Linked DNA regions of Homo sapiens: regions 2 and 3 are each linked to region 1. Evidence: promoter capture Hi-C in 16 types of primary human blood cells and fetal thymus (Javierre and others, 2016). All regions are on one chromosome and are shown on one strand. Each heading gives the region's core, a stretch centred on a gene start or on the middle of the fragment in contact. The rest is flanking DNA. Distances are from core to core; before and after follow the strand shown. Region 1 holds the start of MED13L (mediator complex subunit 13L). Region 2 overlaps TESC (tescalcin). Region 3 overlaps FBXW8 (F-box and WD repeat domain containing 8).

Evidence for each region. Contacts are between HindIII fragments. The CHiCAGO score rates a contact against its expected background, and 5 or more counts as called.
Region 2: a contact is called between a fragment that was not itself captured here and the fragment with the promoter of MED13L in region 1, in 1 of 17 cell types (neutrophils). The highest score is 5.1, in neutrophils.
Region 3: a fragment that was not itself captured here is called in contact with the fragment with the promoter of MED13L in region 1 in 1 of 17 cell types (naive CD8 T cells); the score reaches 6.6 in naive CD8 T cells.

Annotation. Positions count from the first base shown.
Region 1 is chr12:116,276,261-116,279,088 of GRCh38, forward strand. MED13L (mediator complex subunit 13L) reads right to left here and starts at 1,433. Exons shown (of 31, transcript NM_015335.5): 1 at 800-1,433. The coding sequence starts at 871. RefSeq lists silencers at 1,262-1,731, 1,782-1,841. The HindIII fragment of the contact is 4,130 bases long and covers 158-2,828 here.
Region 2 is chr12:117,071,463-117,074,290 of GRCh38, forward strand. All of the region lies in intron 2 of TESC (tescalcin), which reads right to left. Among named protein-coding and RNA genes, the nearest start is that of TESC, 27 kb to the right of the region's middle. The HindIII fragment of the contact is 1,681 bases long and covers 590-2,270 here.
Region 3 is chr12:116,922,593-116,925,420 of GRCh38, forward strand. All of the region lies in intron 1 of FBXW8 (F-box and WD repeat domain containing 8), which reads left to right. Among named protein-coding and RNA genes, the nearest start is that of FBXW8, 13 kb to the left of the region's middle. The HindIII fragment of the contact is 6,125 bases long and covers 1-2,828 here.

The sequences.
Region 1 (2,828 bases), core at 183-2,682:
CGAAGGCAGATAAAAGCGATGTTATCAAACCGACCAGCTTGTTGCTTTTGTGTGTGTGTGTGTGTGTGTGTGTGTGTGTGTGTGTGTGTGTGCGGATTCGTTGTTAGGATAGAGAAAAACAGTTTTTAAAAGACACAGGAGGAGAGAAAGAAGAAAAAGCTTTCTCCACCTTCCGTCGGCTCGGTGCAATGGCTTTACGGCTCTCCAGCATAGTAAGCCCCGAGAGGCAGGCGGCTGTCGATGTTTACAATCGCGGGAGCTTCGGGTGCAAGAGTCCTTTCCTGACACAATCGCATTCAATCAACTATTTTAGGGCGAAATTGCAGGTGTCATTATGGAATTTAAAAAAATTCAAAAGGCAGGCGGGCGGGCAGGCAGCTGATCCAACAACGGGGGAAGAGGTTGCCGATCGGAGGCGCGGCAGCACAAGGCAAAGCCTTCCACATTTACGGGGGGAAAAAAAGGGGGGAAAGGGGAGGAGAAGGGGAGTGCGATTGCAACAGAGGGTGGGCGTTCGAAGTGCGACCCAGAATCCGCAGCTCCGAGACTTCCACATGCAAATTCCACGCCGAGCGCCGCGCTCACAAATGATTTTTAAAGAGCCAAATAAACACTGGATGGGATCCAAGGCGAGAGAGAGACGATCCAAAAGGGGGAGAATCGGCGAGAGGCGAACGGCGGGGAGACGCGAGGGAGGGGCGAAGTCCCGGCGGCGGGAGGAGAAAGTTGGTCGGCGGCGGAGGTCGGGGACCCCCCCCCTTCCCCGGCACAGCCCCCTCCCCGCAGCCCGGCTACTCACCAGCGAAAAGAGGTTGGAGTGACAATCCTCCAGGCTCGCCCCGTTCGCCACCCAGTTCGCTGCCGCAGTCATGATCCTCCGCGAGCCCGGCCGCCAGAGCGGGGCATGTCGGAGCGAGGCGTCCGAGGCGAGGCCGGGCCGGGCGGCGGCGCCTCGCCGGGGAGCGCGGGGCGGCCGGGCCGCCGCCGCCGCCGGGGGAGGGCGCGAGGGCCGGCGGGCAGGCGGGAGGCGCCGCGGCGACGCCGCGCCGGGGGCAGCGGGCCCGGGCTGGCGGGGGGGGCGCGCGCCCCGGGCCGGCGCTGCGGGCCGGCCACCGCCTCCGCCTTCCCTGCTCCTCAGCCGCCGCCGCCGCCGCTGCTGCCGCTGCCGCCGCCTTGTTTATCTCCAGCCACCGACTCCCCCTCGGCCCCCGCCGGCGCGCGAGGGGAGGCGAGCCCCGGAGCCGCCGCCGCCGCCTCGGAGCCGCCGCCGCCGCGGAGCGCGAACTCGCGAAGGGGGGGGTGCGGACGAAGCCAGCGGGCGACCCCGGCAGCCGAGCGACGTCCCCTCCTTCCTCTTCCTCCCCCACCCCCCCCTCCTCCCCAGTCAGCCTCGCTTCTCCTCCCTCCCCGGGCTCGCTTGCTCTGACAGCAATGGCGGCCGCCGACCGCGGCTCGGCCCGCCATTGGCTGGCGCTTGGTCACGTGACGGGCGCCGGCCGCGCGGGGGGAGCGAGGGGCGGGCGGGGGAGGGGTCCGGAGTGGCGGCGGCGGCGGCGGCTCGCGGGAGGCGCTGCTGAGCTGAGCGCGGCCGGGTCCTCCGGCCGGGAAGAGGGAGGGAGGGAGGCAGAGAGGGAGAGAAAGAAGTGCGGGCGGCCGGGCTCCCCGGCGGGCGGCGGACTGCCGGCCCGTGGCTGCCGTGGGCTGCCCCTCGTGGCCGCCCCGCCCCCTCGCGGTGCACTGATCGTGGCGGGGCGGGACCGTGGGTCCCGGGCGCGCCCGTGGTGGCCGCGGAGGAGGGCGCGGGACCCCCGGCCTGTGCCCTCGCAGCCCAGGCCGGCTGGCGTGGCGCGGCGGCCGCGATGTGGGCCAGGCAGCGGGTCCGAGTGCCCTGGGGAATGTGTCCTCAGAGGCTCGCGCCGCCGTCCGCCTTTTGCAGAGGAGAAAACTAAAGCACAAAGGGATTAAATCACTTGCCCGAGGTCGCACACTTGGGAAGAGGAGTCCAGATTCGAACCCGCGCACAGTGAAGCCAAGCTCTTGGACAAGGTTTCACAGGCTTCGCCCAGGGATATTCACGGCTGCCATAGACGGAGCGCTTACTGTGTTCCAGACACTGTGCGTTTAATACAGAAATGTTTATTGAGCCCTTACTCCTAGTTACTGTGTGCACTCATTCATTCATTCATTCATTCATTACATAAATGTTTCCTGAGCTCCTGCTGTGTGCCAGAATCTGTTATAACTTCCAGGCACTGTGCTAAGGCCGTGTTGGGAGCAGACCCTTCTTCCTGGCGTCATTCATTGGATAACCAACATTTCCTGAGTGTATATGGCCTGGGAGTCCGGAGGAGTGCTGCTATGAAGAGAAGCTCTCCCAGTCCTCAAGAAATGGATCCCCGAAAAGGGGGAGGAGAAAACAATGTCTTCACTAATACGCCTCCAAACATGGAACAATCAGCTGTTTCAGGTAGATTAAGCTAAAAGAGGAAGAGTGGATGGCTGGCACAGTGGCTCACGCCGGTAATCCTAGCCGAGGTTTAAGACCAGCCTGAGCAATGTAGCAAGAACCCCCGTCATGACAAAAAAAATAAAATACAAAAATACAAAAATTAGCCAGGCGTAGTGTGGCATGTGCCTGTAGCCCTAGCTACTCGAAAGGCTGAGGTGGGAGGATAACTTGAGCCCTGGAGGCAGAGGCTGCAGTGAGCCCAGTGAGCCGAGGTCGCATCACCGTACTCCAGCCTGAGTGACAGAGAGAGGCCCTGTCTCAAAAAAAAAAAAAAAAAAAAAAAGGAAGAGTAGAAAGCAGGGAAGAGATGAGAGTGTAT
Region 2 (2,828 bases), core at 180-2,679, 800 kb after region 1:
CTTGGAAATGTGGTCCACACTGAGGCCTCAGCAAAGCAGAAGCCAGCATCTACACACCTGTGTGAGTCCCACATAAAGAACACAAAGATGACGTTGATGGCACTGGGTAGCCATCAAGAGGGCTGTTGAGCAGAGGCTGCTCACTAGCTCCTTTGAATGACCCTGCCAGGCAGGCACACTGAGGGCTTGTGCAAGGGTGCTACATATGAGGTCCTGGGGATGGGTGTGCAGGAGAGGGGCAAACAGGGTTTGGGGTGGCAGGGCAGGACCAACGGCTCACATTTCTAAGCTGAGCCTGGGCAGGTGAGGCCTGGGAGGTAGGAGTCCGGCGCCATCAGCACAGAGAGGCCGCGCCAGCTCAGCTCCTGCAGGAGGAGGACGCTCCACCCACTCAACCATGGAGGACCTACTGTGTGCTGTCCACAGTGCTGGGCAACGGAGGCACTTGTTAGAAATGCAGAGTCTCAGGCCCCACCCTAGAACTGCAGAAGCAAAACCTGCATGGCAGCAAGATTCCCAGGTGATTCGAGCACAGTCAAGTTGGAAAAAAACTGTTGTAGGGAATGCCATTTTAGTACGTCCCATTGTAAGCTTATGATGGGGTGCTAGGCAATGCATCAGGGCTCAGCGCCTAGAACCTAAAAGTGGGAGGGGCCTCCAACAGCCTCATATCCTCCTCCTCACACAGCACCTGGGCCCCCACCACACTCAGATTAGACCCTCAGGATGGGGTGGAAGAATAGCCCCATTTGCCAAATGCCTGTGAACCCAGCTTAGAGCTAAACTGCCCTGCTTGCACCTGCTTTTTTTTCCCCCTAGAGATGGGGTCTCACTGTGTTGCCCAGGTTGGGCTCAAGCGATCCTCCAGCCTTGGCCTCCCAAAGTGCTGAGATTATAGTCGTGAGTCACAGTGCCCGGCCGACTGCTCATTTTTAATGCTCAAATCAAATCCCAAGTGACCATGCTCACTTTCCAGATGAGGAGACCAGCTCAGAGAAAGGAAGTAACCAGCCCGAAGCCACAAAGCCAATGGCATGAAGGATTCTAATACAGTTGGACTCCGAAGCCTGGGTTTTTGCCTCTGCATCTCTATGCATGTAGAATATGAACCTAAAGTTCACCACCCAAAGTTGGATGGATCTAACATCAGATGCATAACAATAAGTCCAAGGCAGTTTGTTACAGGGCTGGGGGCTCCACTTGCTGGAAAACTGTCTTGAGGACAAAGGGGCTCTGCCTTCCCACATCCTCCACTGTGAGCTCCATAGCGGCTGCAGCTACCAGCGTAGGTACCAAGCACCTGGCGCAGAGCAGATGCTCATGAACTTTTTAAGAGACAGGGTCTTGCTCTGTTGCCCAGCCTGGAGTACAGTGGTGCACTCATAGCCCACTGCAGTCTTGAACCCCTGGGTTCAAGTGATCCTCCTGCCTCAGCTTCCCAAGTAGCCAGAGCTACATGTGTGCATCACCAGACCTGGCTAATTTTTAAATATTTTGTAGAGAAAGGGTCTTGCTATGTTGCCCAGGCTGCTCATTAACTTCTGAAGGAACAAGCAAAGCACGCCCTTGACACTGTTTTCCAGCATCCAGTGTCCATATATGCCACCTCCCCGCTAGATCTCAGTGCCTGGCTGACTTGTGTCATGCTACACACTCCTCAGCCTATGGACCAAGGAGGTTTCACCTTGCCCTGGTTGAAACCACCCGCCCTCCATCCCTGTCCTTGGAGGAAACTGACCCCAGGCCCCATGCCCTTATAGCTCTAGGGGAAAACATTTGCATGTCTGGTCTTTGGCCATGGCGATTGGCTCAGACTCAGGCCCGTGACCCCATCAGAGCCAATGAGAAGCCAGGTGACTCTTCCGCTGGGCTCAGGTTCTCTCTCCTCCACTGGGCTTGGTGGGCAAGATGTCTAGAATTAAAGGTATAAATCTTAATTGTCTTTAAGTCGGCCTTGGATGCAATCAAACTGAGACCAGAGGCCACAAGAATCATGAGACCGTCAGAATCTGAGCTCTTGAAATTAAGAATGAAATATACTGGATTAACAATATGCCTGTGTTTAGACAAACAAGAGAAAGTGGACATTTATATGTCAGTTTCCATAAAACCTAGGGGAAATTTAAGTCTGTTTACCAAGAAGGAAGTTTCCCTGGAGTATTAGAAGGTTTGTTTCAAAGTTCCAACAAGCTGTAACCTTGAGACTCTGAATGCTTATTTTAGGAAACTACATCTGTTAGAAGTTTATGGTAGAAATTTGTTCAACTTGAAGCTTCCCCATGAACTCTGTGTGACGATCAAGTCACTGGCAAGGACCTCTCACTAACCCAGCTGTAAGTAACTCAAGCAGCACTCGCTTGTAATCCCAGCCACTCAGGAGGCTGAGGCGGGGGGACTGCTTGAGCTCAGGAGTTCAAGATCACCCTGGGTAACATAGCAAGACCACGTCTCAAAAAAAAAAAATACAAAACAATTAACAGGTCTGGTGCAGCGGTACACACCTGTAGTGCCAGCACTTTGGGAGGTAGAAATGAGGGGACTGCTTGAGGCCAGGAGTTTGAGACCAGCCTGGGCAACATAGTGAGACCCCCATCTCTACAAAAACTTTAAAAAATTAGCTGGTGTGGTGGTGCATGGCTGTAGTCCCAGCACTTTGGGAAGCTAAGGCAGGAGGATCACCTGAGCCCAGGAGTTCAAGACCAGCCCGAGCAACATAGCAAGACCCTGCTTCTACGAAAATAAAAGTAAATAAAAAATTACCTGGGTGTGATGGCACATGCCTGTGGTCCCAGCTGCTTGGGAGGCTGAGGCAGGAGGATCGCTTGGGC
Region 3 (2,828 bases), core at 142-2,641, 650 kb after region 1:
GACAGATTAAATTTCTAACAGTAAGGCACAAAACCAATCCATTTACAGAATTAGTCTTACATTAGCACATAGGAATACAAATCAGCCTCCCTGGGGATGGATCTCTTTGCAATTTCTCTCAGTGTTTTTGGAGTAAGTCCAGTAGACTTTGGGAAAATCTAGTATTCACTGACTTTAAATTAAATAAGTAATATGACCCCTTTGAGTGTGTGTGTGTGTGTTTTTTTTCCCTTGACTAGGAAAAAGGGGATGGATAGATTTTTATATCTGCCTATGATGTATGGTTGTGTTCTCAACTTTTAGTGTGCATGAGGATCGCCTGAGAAAGAGGTGCTTGAGGCCGGGTGCAGTGGCTCATGCCTGTAATCCCAGCACTCTGAGAGGCCAAGGCAGGTGGAGGCCGAGAGTTCGAGACTAGCCTGGCCAACATGACAAAACCCTGTCTCTACTAAAAAATACAAAAATTAGCTAGATGTGGTGATGTGTGCCTGTAATCTCAGCTACTTGGGAGGCTGAGGCATGAGAATCGCTTGAACCTGGGAGGCAGAGGTTTCATTGAGCCAGGATCGTGCCACTGCACTCCAGACTGGGCGACAGAGCGAGACTCTGTCTCAAAAGAAAAGGAGGTGCTTGAGCCCTAACCCTGGAAATTCAGGGCAGTAGGTCTTGGTAGGGCCCTTGGCATTTTTTTTTTTAAATTCCACAGGTGATTTTAATGTGTAATACAGGACGAAAGTCCCCAATAGTGGTAGAGAATCGATATCTGAGACATTGTCAAAGAATTAAAAGCAAGGTTGTATGTTATCAAACAGATACTTTTCCTTAACATTGAAGGAATACTAATATTTTGAATTTATTGGTTTCCTATAGAATAAATTTGGCCAGTCTCACATTGCTGAGAGCTATTCAACTACTGCAAAATTATTTTCTTTTTTTTTTTGTTTTGAGACAGAGTCTCGCTCGCTCTGTCACCCAGGCTGGAGTGCAGTGGCGCGATCTCGGCTCACTGTAAGCTCTGCCTGCCGGGTTCACGCCATTCTCCTGGCTCAGCCTCTCGAGTAGCTGGGACTACAGGCGCCTGCCACCACACCCGGCTAATTTTTTGTATTTTTAATTAATTAATTAATTTATTTATTTATTTATTTTGAGACGGAGTCTTGCTCTGTCGCCCGGGCTGGAGTGCAGTGGCGCGATCTCGGCTCACTGCAAGCTCCGCCTCCCAAGTTCACGCCGTTCTTCTACTTAAGCCTCCTGAGTAACTGGGACTACAGGCGCCTGCCACCAGGCCCGGCTAATTTTTTTATTAGAGACGGGGTTTCACCATGTTAGCCAGGATGATCTCCATCTCCTGACCTCGTGATCCGCCTGCCTCGGCCTCCCAAAGTGCTGGGATTACAGGCGTGAGCCACTGCACCCGGCCCAAAATTACTTTCTCTAAATATTGTAGCCATGTTGATATTTTTATAGTTTGACCAGATTTCTCTATTTTAATATTTCTAATGTCTTTAATTCCTTTTCCTTCTTCTTGGAATATCTTTGTTTCTGAAATGACAGGTTGTCCATTTTCATGTTTTTAAGTCAGTGTTGTCCATTTTCATGTTTTTAAGTCAGTGTAGAGTTGGGTTAACGTGGCCCATAACTTTTTGGATGGCTATGTGCTTCGCAGTAGTCTAGGTGGAACACTGATAGCATCTTTATTTATTTATTTTTAATGGACACATTATAATTGTACATATTTATGGGGCACGGTGTCATATATGTATACAATGTATATTGACCAAATCAGGGTAATTAATGTATCCATCACCTAAAACGTTTATTATTTGTGTTGTAAACATTCAAAATCTGTTCTTCTAGCTATTTGAAAATATACAATAAATTGTTGTGAATTATAGTCAACCTGTAGTGCCACAGAGAACCAGAACTCATTCCTCCTGTCTAGCTGCACTTTTATATCCATTAACCAACCTCTGTCTGATAGTGTGTTTTAGATAACAAGGTATTTCTCTGCACACTAGTAGCAAGTAGTGTTTTTAACCTACATTTATGAACTGTGGGAAGTACCCAATCAGAGTGCCTAAGACATTCTGCTGCCCGACAGTAGTAGGATTTATGTGGTTACTAGACCACAGCTTTTGTCCAGGATGTGGCTTCATATCCTTGTCAGATCATGCACACTAATAAAAGAGGTGTGTTTTCAACCACAGGGCCAAATATGCTCACAACTCTGCCTCTTGTAAGGTGTTTCTCAAATGATATTTCCAATAATAACAAACTGAAGTTGATGAATTAGTTACTAAACCTTGAATTTACTCTGGTTTGTCTGGTGGAGTGATGTCACTCATTTACCTGCATTCTAGTATCCTCCTCAAGTAGGGGAGAGGAAGTAGCTTACCTAGACTAATGTCTCTGGAGGTGTGCTTAAGAAACCTTGGGAATATATTGAACACAGGACTATCGTGGGTCATGTCTATCACTTTGGTTAAAAAAAAAAAAGATTGAACTTTTCAAAAAATAGATTCTGAAATGGAGATTTGCATGTAGGTGGTTTAGTGGGTTTTCCTTTCAGAGAGGTCCTGAACTGAGCAAGGGGGCCAGGCCTTTGTACCCAGCCATGGACTAGTCATTGGATACAGGCTGCCTTAGTGGGGTGGGAGGGGATGCAACCTGGGTGAGTCAGCTTGTTTGGCCAAAGGCATTGCCTAGGAAGGGACTCAGCTGTGAGTCAACAGCAGGCAGCATTTTCATCTAGGGGAATGAGTGGGACCGGAAGCGGGATCTGAGTGACCCACTGCAGTATCTATGGCAAGGACCATTGATAGAATATG